Regions from separate parts of the Homo sapiens genome. Here region 1 is linked to region 2. Evidence: promoter capture Hi-C in human tissues and cell types (Jung and others, 2019). All regions are on one chromosome and are shown on one strand. The core of a region is centred on a gene start or on the middle of the fragment in contact, and the rest is flanking DNA. Distances in the headings are between cores, read along the strand shown. Region 1 has its middle 42 kb from the start of ARLNC1. Region 2 holds the start of DYNLRB2 (dynein light chain roadblock-type 2).

Region 1 (5,064 bases), core at 1,757-4,256, 390 kb before region 2:
GCATGGGGCCAAACTATTTCATGGGAAATGCTTCAGAAAGGAGGCATTTCCCCACGCCTGTCTCCCAGCATCTGACTTTGCAATGAGAACCACAGCTCTCAGGTGGACCCAAGTGCTCCCATCAGTAGCTCCCTGTATTCTCTTCCTGGTGGTGAGCCACCTGGGAACCCAGATTGTCAGAGGGTGGCAATGAGACTGAGATATATGCAAGAATTTGGGTGGTTTTAAGAGACTGTCTCAGCTAGGATGCCTGAAACAATTTCACTTGTGACATTAGCAATTCTTAACCTACTAGGTGTAATGAACCACTTTGAGAATCTGAATGAAGTTATAGACATTCTCCTCAGAAAGATGCAGAGGTCGGGCGTGCTGGCTCGTGCCTGTAATTCCAGCACTTTAGGAGGCAGAGGCGGGTGGATCACTTGAGGTCAGGGGTTCAAGACCAGCCTGCCCAGCGTGCTGAAACCCCATCTCTACTAAAAATACAAAAATTAGCCGGGTGTGGTGGCACATGACTGTAATCCCAGCTACTCAGGAGGGTGAGGCAGGAGAATCACTTGAACCCAGGAGGCAGAGGTTGCAGTGAGCTGAGATCGTGCCACTGTACTCCAGCCTGGGTGACAGAGCAAGACTTCATCTCAAAAAAAAAATGCAGAATTAATTACACATACAATTTTAGGAGGTTCATAAAGCTCCAGGAAGCCAGCCCTGGGGCGCCAGGTGGAGACTCTATACCTGTGTTCACTTAACAGTTAACCTGGCTGGTGCTTTCGTGGGCCTTGCCAACTCTTTCTCCATGACCCTCTTTTGTGCAGGCACTCATGTCTGACCAGCCTTTCTTCTGTTGGACACATTCTATGTCAGGTAACTTAGAGTCTTGGCATGAGATATGCTCTCAATAAGTCTTTGCAATCCAGTCTTGCCTTCCAAAGGGCTATTCTGCCTCAAGTTGATCTCATACTTCTATTTTGATTCAGGACATATGAGTTTTAAAGTTTTTCTCTCAAAAGGATATTCTTATTTCAACATGCTTTAGCAGCATGAAGATTCTCTTGCTCGCAATAGATGGAAAGTCTGCATTCAAAATGGCATAGGCAGAGCCTGGTGTGGTGGCTCACGCCTGTAATCCCAGCACTTTGGGAGGCCGAGTTGGGCAGATCACCTAAGGTCAGGAGTTCGAGACCAGCCTGGGCAACATGGTGAAACCCAGTCTCTACCAAAAATATAAAAATTGGCTGGGCGTGGTGGCGGGTGCCTGTAATTCCAGCTGCTCGGGAGGCTGAGGCAGGAGAATTGCTTGAACCCAGGAGGCGGAGGTTGCAGTGAACCGAGATGCGCCATTGCACTCCAGCCTGGGCAACACGGTGAGACTCCGTCTCAAAAAACAAAACACCAAAAAAACCCCATACAAAACAGAACAAAACAAAAACAAAATGGCTTAGGCAAAAACAGGGAATGGCTTACAACTAAAAAGTTCAAGAGTCATGACTGACTTCAGGAACAGCCACCTCTGTGGGCTCAGATGCCATCAGAACTTGTTCTCACTCAAGCTCCTAACACCGTCTTCCTTTGTTTTGGCTCCATTCTCAGGCAGTGTTTTCCTCATGGGGACAGGAAGCAGGACAGCTTCCATTTAATGTTCCAAGGGCACTAACAGATGAACTGTCATCTTCCCCTCAGCTCCAAACCTGCACCTAGCAGTTCCAGGCTTATACCTTATTCACTCTCAGAAATGTGAAGAAGTTCATTTCAAACCAGTTTCCCATGATCTGCTTGGGGAAAAGCAAACCTAAGACCATCTCCTTTCCCCATCTCCAACCAGAATGTACTTAGCCATTCTTCCTTAGTGATCACTGAATGAGTTCTTACTCTGCTGGAGTTGGTGTAGTGGGTGGAGGGGACAGATGGAGACATAAGTCATTGGGTAAAGGCAGTGCAGTAAAGTCTGTGCTGCGGCAGGGATGGGGAGCAGGTATAGTAGGGAACTCAAAAGGACTGCTACATTTTGCCTGTGGGAGTCAGATGATGCTTCTCTCAACGGGGGATATTTGAGCTCATTCTTGAAGCATGAGGAGGAGTTTTCTAGGTAGAGGTGAGGGTAAGCGTCCTTCTAAGTGGAGGAAATAGCAAGTGCAAAGGCTTAGAGGAGCAAAAAAGGCAAGGAGTGTCTAGGAAACAGTGAAAGATTTCACGTAGCTAGAGGAGGGTGCTTGCGTAGGAGTGCTGGGAGATGCAAAGAATGGGGGCAGAGTGGAAAGGAATGCAAAGCTTGTTATCATGATGTGGAGTCTGGACTTCATTCAGGGGCAATTGGCAGGGTACTAAAGAGTTTTAAGCCCCTGCCATAACTAGGTAGGCATTTAGAAAGATCACCCTGACTACAATGTGGAAGATGGGTTTGGAGGGGAAAGCCCTAGAGGCAGGAGGCATCTGAGAAGCTAGTGCCACCTTCCAGGAGAAAAGGGATGCGTTGACCTGAGGCAGGTGAAGAAGGAATGGACTTGCGAGCTCTTTAGGGGGTAAAATGGACAGACCTGGGGACCAGATGGATGGGGATGAGGAAAGAAGGGTCTAGGATGATTCCCAGCTTTCTCCACTGGGAAACTGGATGAACGGTGGTGGCCTGCACTAGCTGGGAGAGGCGCAGGTTTGGAGCTGAGGGGAAGATGACAGTTCACATGTTAGTGCCCTTGGAACATTAAATGGAAGCTGTCCTGACCTCATCTGGGTTCCTGAGTCTGGAGGTGGTGGGTCTGGAGGGGCCCATGAGGCTTGTAGGCTGTGGGTGGTGGTGTGCAAGCAATGATACCCTAGACAGGGTGTCACCACTAGCAAGAAAATGCCCCATGATTGTTATTATTATTGTTATTGTTTTATTCTGTCCTTGCATGTTCCCCTCAAGATTCCAAGTCCTGAGGAAGAGAAGGTCCCTTTGGCCTGTGGGATCATGGGCCCACTCTTGACTCAGGGAGAGCAAGAAACTCTGATTTTCAGCTACCTAAGATGGCACAGTGGGGACAAGGAATTTCTCCAGAAGAAATAAATATATTCACCCTATGAAGAGGAAGTACGTGTCAAGTGACACCAAAATGACAAATATCCACTTGTTACTTTACCGTTTATTTCAGCCTCAGTTGTCCGCATGGTGAGTGCACCTGCCCCTAGCACTGCCCAGAGGCTGCATGAGTGATTTCACCTAAAGCTCTGGCACTCTCTGTTTGTATCATAGCAATCGCTTTTGAAGTGTTTATTACTTTTATTTACACCAGTAATCCACAGCGTCCTTCTTTTTATTTTTATTAAATTAATTAATTAATTTTTGAGACGGAGTTTCACTCTTGTTGCCCATGCTGGAGTGCAATGGCACAATCTTGGTTCACGGCAACCTCCGCCTCCCGGGTTCAAGCGATTCTCCTGCGTCAGCCTCAGCCTCAAGAGTAAGTAGTTGGGATTACAGGCATGCGCCATCACGCCCGGCTAATTTTGTATTTTTAGTAGAGACGGGGTTTCTCCATGTTGGTCAGGCTGTTCTAGAACTCTCGACCTCAGCTGATCTGCCCGCCTCGGCCTCCCAAAGTGTTGGGACTACAGGCATGAGCCACCACGCCCTGCCAGCCTCATTCTTTAGTTAGTGGGCGTGGGGCCAAACTATTTCATAGGAAATGTTTCAGAAAAAAGGCATTTCCCCAAGCTTGTCTCCCGGCGTCAGGCACTACGATGACACAAATCGCTTATGACCAGCGTTCACCGATGGCCATAGCCCGGTCACGATCATAGAGCACGGTTGGCCGGCTCCTGGATCCGTCATGACGCGCCGGCAAAGCAGCTTCCTCCCGAGTGGATGAACTAACATTTTTATTGAGCACACACCACGTGCCGGCTGCTATGCCAGGCACTTTCACACACGTTATTTTATTTATAATCCTCACCTTGACCCTGAGATGTGGATGGCATTTTCTCCATCTTAAAAATGAGAAAAAAAATAGGGCTCGGAAGCGTCAAGTAACTTGCCCAAGGACACGAGCGGAAAGTGGCGGAGCCTAAATGACAACCTGGGCCTGCCTGTCGCAGGCTCTTTCCACCTCGGCACGAGGAGGGCGCCCGGCGTGTGCGCGCGCGCGGCCTCCTGGTGGTTCTCCCTCTGGCCTGGTGGGAACCCGCGGGGCCTTCCCGAGAGCGGCCAGGGCCCCGGAGCCCGGCTCTGCGCAGGCCGCTGCCGAGGTCCAGTTCCCGGGGGAAGGCAGCTTGTGCTCTGGGCGGAGAGCCCGTGGAGCGACTCGGGTTTAATAGACGCGCCGGTCCTCTTCCAAGAGCCTGGAAATCTGCAGAGGGATCCCGCCTTTCCAGGGAAGCCGGGCTGGGTGAAACTGACAGGTCTTGGCGCGCGGAGGAAGGGGTGGCGGGGAGCCCGGCCGGCTCCCTCCCAGTCTGCGCTCGCTGGCGGCTCCCCGAGGCTCCGGGCTTGGCTCCGCGGTACCTCTGGCTGCAAACACATCGGCCCCAGAAAGTAGGTCAGCGTGCGGCAAGCTCTGTCCCAGGCGGCGCTGCCGACTCCCCCGCTCCCCTGGCCCCCAGTCTCCTGCAGCCTCCCCGGCCTGCGGTCGGCGCCCTTGCCCTCCCCCCGGGTCTGCAGTGTCCTCCTCTCCTCTGGCTCATCTCCTACTCGCCTCCTGCCCTCTCTTTCGCTCTCTCCGTCATTTGAGCCCCCCTCTTCTCTCTCTCGCTCCTCTCCCCTTTCTCGCCTCCTGCTCCCCCCAACTCCGTCGGTCTGACACCCTCCCCTCCTTCTTCTCCTTTCCTCTCCTCTTAACATCTTGGCCCATTCACTTCTGGTAGCAGTAGTTAATAATACAACCAATCTGTTGTCTTTTTAAAGAGATACCGTGCTTGTTTCAAAGAAATCAAAGGACGTAGAAAAGTTTACATGTGGAAAAAAAAGAGAAAAATCCCACTACTGAGAAATAGCTTTAGTTAACACGGGATGCACGCTACTCAGATATATTTTTATGTATACATAGAGTTAAAGGATATAAATATTTTATAAAAATGAGACCACAAATAGAT
Region 2 (4,938 bases), core at 624-3,123:
CTATATCATGGCCTCCCTCTGTCTAAAAGTAGTCCTTATTGAGAAATCTTATTTTCATTAATGTGACCTAATCAGTTCGGATGATTAAATTTAAAGGATAGTCTATAAAAACAAAGTATTCCAGGATTCTAGGATTTTCTTGATAACTATAGCTTGCGTCTCAGTGCAAGCTGAATGTTCAACTATGAGTGATTATTCTGGAATCTATTATTGTGTTTTAAACTCATTCGGAATCTTATGTGTAGAGTGTATTGTATGTTTTCTTCCCCTGTAGAAAACTCAAAGACAAGAACGATCTTTTCCAAACCTGCAAATTTTTCATGACTGAGCAATCACTGGATATTTTGAATTCTGCAAATTCTCTTGATGAGGGTTTGCTATATTCTTTTTTCCTCAGTATTGCACAGGTGAACATTTTGTTACTTCAAGATAGTTTTCCTTTGTACTTGGTATGGGCAGGAGCACTTATTTTCTCTATTTCAGCATCAGAGCCAAGGTTTTCTTGACTTTAGGCATTTGTGTACTAGATTCATGATTCTTGCCATTATGAATGCCATGTATACTATTTATCTAGGTGTTCTTTAAATTATCTCACTGCTAAAAGCTTAAATAAATGCATTTTAAGAGGAAATCGTATGTCACTACCACAAATGGAAACCTGACGTTATTCCTCATAAATAGAAATAACTGTAAAACAAACAAAATGAACAAAATGAAGAGAGAGCCTATCATTAAATTCTACTGCAATGAAAGCTCTGAGCCTGAGGCCTGCTCTTCGGATGAAAAAATGGAAATTTCCAAATGACAGTGGTATTAAGGACCTAATAGCAACAGAAATTTTCTCCTGTATGTAGTCTGAAGGTTGAACAAAATGGAAGAGGAATAACTTTCTCACGATGTGATTCACTCTTATTTAGCATTTCTCGGCCATCTTATGTAGCAACGAATGTTTGCATCTGACTTTGAGAAACACTACACTAAACCGTAAGCGTTGAACAGGGGATCAATAATTCACTGCATTTTGGGCAATCTTTAAGACGATGTCCACAGCTTCTTACAGCCACTGTGTCCTTATTTATCTTTCTCCCTTTACTTATCTCCCAAACTCCTTTCTTTTCTTTCCCTGGCCTTTCCATTTCTCCACCCAGTTGTTTCTCTTCTCATGATTTGTAAGTGCTCCTAGTATAATTTCTTAATCCCCATCTCCAATCCCCGTTTCATTCTTCTCTTAACGCCCTTTGCTTTCCACAGTCTCTACTTTTTTTTTTCTTACCTCTTTTTCTGGGGGGGAGGGGGGCGGGTCTCCCATCACTTCTTTCCTTTTTCTTTATTTCCCTTTCTTCTTTCTCAGTATCTTCCCTTCTCACCCTTCCATTCCCTTGCTTTCCCTGTCCCACCTCTTCCTTCTCTCTAAGGGTCTGATTTTTTTTCCTCTCCATCTCGGCCTCCCGCCCCCTCTTTGGAAACTTTCCTGGCTCCCCGGATTTCTCACTCCCCTGAGCATTCTTCATCCTCTGAATCTCTCTCTTCCCTTTCTCAACATCACCCCTCCTTATGTACCATCCCCGCGAAATCAATTCCCAAAACAGCTTCCAGTCATCTAGACATCTTCTTGCCCCTTTCCAAGGTCTCCCTCTCGCCCCTCCAGGAAGATCCTGGAGCCACCAGCCTCCGCCGCGGCCCCTGGACCGCCCGTGCCTGGGTGGGCCCCAGAAGCTGGGTGCGAAGGTCCTTGACGGTCGGCGTGCTTGGAACGGCGGGGCGTGGACGGAGACCCCAGATTTACCATCGCGGAGGCCGCGAAACTCTGGGCTCAGGCCGGCGGCACAGCCTCCCGGGATGTCAACAACGCTACCCGCCGTTGCTAGGAGACAAAAAAGGAAGTGGCCCCACGGAAGCGTCAGGGCTGCGCCTGCGCGCTCGCGAGTCGGCTTTTTCGCCCTGACCGCGCTCCTGATGCCTCCCGGCCGCCGTAGGCGAAGGTTCGCGGAAGAGGGGAGCAGGCGCTCACCTGAGGTTCGCCCAATCCTGGAGCAGTGGGTCCCGGGAGGGAAGAGGGAAGTGGGTCAGGCTCCCGGCCTGTGTTTGTCCATTCATTCATTCATTGAGGCACGAATTAATGTGATAACCACTTATTCGTTCAAAAACTGCTGATTCACCACCCACCAGGTGCCAGGGAGACGGACAAAATGCACCAAACAAAATGCACGAAACAGTACCGGAAGCAGTAATGTCCACGTGTGATACTTGCCCTGGAGCAAGTAAGGAGGGGACAGGACCATCTGACTTCGGGGTTGGGCTGCTCTAGGGGTTTGGTGATAGTCTTAGCTGCCTGTGACCGTCCATTAGTACTGCCCTGTTCAGGGCAGATACTGTTCGCTCGCCTCCCAGTAGTTTTTATATTGAAGAAAAATATATCAGAGCATCAAATAGTACAACCTTATGTACTTAAAAAAATTACTTTCTATCTGTCTACTCTAAGATCAGTAGAGTAAGCACAGTTGCACATTTTATGTTCTCACCTAGTTATAGCACCCTCTTCCTGTTCTCAACTCCATTGAAGAGTTGCTACTTGTCAGTATTTCTGTTAGTTGTCAGTATCCATTAGGATCTGTATTTTTGCCATTTTAAAAATCAACAGTTCTGAGTTACTAAAAAATTGCAAATGGTAGTTCCGGAGGTTCTATACGTTGCCATAGAAGAGCATTCCATTGGGTGTTTAAGGAACTGTTGGAGGAAACACGTTAAAGATCAGTTAGGAATGATCAGAAGTCACTTGACCTTTTGAGGGACATTGATAATATCCTTATAGCCTAGGAGGAAAAGAGCCACTATTGTACGACGAAGCACAGCAGGAAAATTTTATGGCTGGAGTCGTGTTATGACTTCCTGAGGTTAGAGGAGGACAAATATTGATTACAAAATACAAGCTGTAAGTTGGGAATGCATCTTCATAGGGATCATGCCATAACAACTTCCTGTAATACCGATTCTGTTTGTGCATCCATTTCCAGAAAGTAGTCTCACACTGAACAAGGCATACATCGTGCTAGGAATGTCAACTGGATTCTGAATGGTCCATGTTAGGGGTGCTCTGGGACAGTTTTGAACTCATTGGCAGGCTTGGACTCGATGATCCATTTCAACTCCACATCTGTCATTTTATTATATTAACTACAGAAATACTCTGAGAAACTGTAGTTCTGCTCTAATTTTTGTTGAGGTGTGGGTGATTCTGATCACTGTAGTTCTCTCCTTTTTTTCCCTCCAAGAAATCTGTATATCTCAGCCAGTTCACTATTACTAGCCAAAGAATCCCGCTTGACTCTCAACACCTGGTACTCCAACAAAGTTGCTTTGGAAAGGACTGCTATAGCTGTGGGGAAGGAGTCTGAGTCTGGTGTGTGCGTGTGCGTGTGCATTTGTGTGCTTGTGTGTGTATGCATGCATGTGTGTACAGATCTGGCTCTTACCTGATTGACTATAGCTACCATTTTGCAGTAATACAAATAATAGGTCTTTACAGAAATACTGGCTGAGTTGAATGAAGAGTGATTCTTGGGTTCTCTGGGTGTTTCTGATCAAGGAGATTCCACTTGATTGTGTAGCCGTTTGTTTTTCTTACAAAAATCAGTGACAGTGCACCATGTCTGATATGTCAATCAGCTTTAATGAAGGAACCAACTGCATATGCATGGAGTGTGAATTTCCTTGTTTCTGGAGTCAGGATGTCAAGCTCATTCAATAGCTGACAGCTGTAATTAGAGCAAAGAACGATTCTAGCATAAAACGCACTGACGGGAGAACCCAACTGCTGAAAAAGAAATAAGAAGTAGCCAAACTGACTTCCAACCAACAGTCAAGTTTGACTCTGTGCACAGAAAATCAATGAGGAGAACTTGAGCCATTTCCCCTTTATCAATTTTTCACTTCTAATTATTCCTTGGAGGTAGCTCGGTTTAATTTTCATGCCTTTTTTGGACCTGTAATGAATATCCAGAGCTGTGCTATATAAAGTGTCTTTGCAATGTCTTACATGTTTCCTACTCCATCCCCAATATATGTGAATTCCCCTTTTACCCTCTCCTCTTTCTCCCATCCCCTCGGCCTTTCTTTTTGACTCACAATAAGTGCTAAATAACTTTGAACGTAAGTGAAAATATTAGTGAATAATAGTTTTTGCAAGTACTCTGACTTAACCCCAAAAGTGATACATGCAGAGACCAAGTCCACTATTTTTCACATATGATTTTGTTAGAAGGAGATGATTTTCTTCTGGGAGTCTCTCTTGCTGTTTGATACTTTGCTACTGCTCTCTGGTTAGCTTGAAGAAATCCAGATAACTTAATGATCTTGAGTTTTTTTTTTGGTATTTTCTATACCAACCCATATAGCTATCTTTGGCATTCTTGGCAGTTGGCAAATATTATGAACTGGGCTGTAGAATAAATTTTGTGCCCATTTTCTCATAAGGTAAGGCATTGTTTGTCACTTACCAGAACTTCTCCTGGTATTCTACTGGTTTCCCTCCAGAAAATAGACACTACATTCTTCTAACATGTTCACAGGCCAGGCATGGTGGCTTTCATCTGTAACCCCAGTGTTTTGGGAGCTGAGGCAGGAGGATTGCTTAAGGCCGGTAGTTTGAGAACAGCCTGGGCAACAAAGCAAGACATAATTTCTACTAAAAATCAAAAAAAAAAAAAAAAAAAGGCTGGGCGTGGTGGTATATGCCTGTATTCCCAGCTACTTGGGAGGCTGAGGCAAGAGGATCACTTGAGGCTGGGAGTTTGAGGTTGCAGTGAGCCACAGTTACACCACTCTCACTAGCCTGGGTGACAGAGTGAGACTTGTCTCAAATAAAAAAAGTACAATAAAATAATAAAATAAAATACTCCTTAATACTAGGGCATAATTAGAAGATACCAGTAATATCAA

The links. The method cuts DNA at HindIII sites, captures the fragments that hold promoters and counts their contacts. A contact is called where the count stands out against the background at its distance.
Region 1: a fragment that was not itself captured here is called in contact with the fragment with the promoter of DYNLRB2 in region 2 in 1 of the 25 tissues and cell types used here (dorsolateral prefrontal cortex).

Annotation. Positions count from the first base shown.
Region 1 is chr16:80,931,616-80,936,679 of GRCh38, reverse strand. No RefSeq gene overlaps it. Among named protein-coding and RNA genes, the nearest start is that of ARLNC1, 42 kb to the right of the region's middle. The HindIII fragment of the contact is 5,223 bases long and covers 395-5,064 here.
Region 2 is chr16:80,537,928-80,542,865 of GRCh38, reverse strand. DYNLRB2 (dynein light chain roadblock-type 2) reads right to left here and starts at 1,873. Exons shown (of 4, transcript NM_130897.3): 1 at 1,787-1,873. The coding sequence starts at 1,789. The region is part of intron 1 of DYNLRB2-AS1 (DYNLRB2 antisense RNA 1); the gene reads left to right. RefSeq lists an enhancer at 1,733-1,822. The HindIII fragment of the contact is 10,411 bases long and covers 1-4,938 here.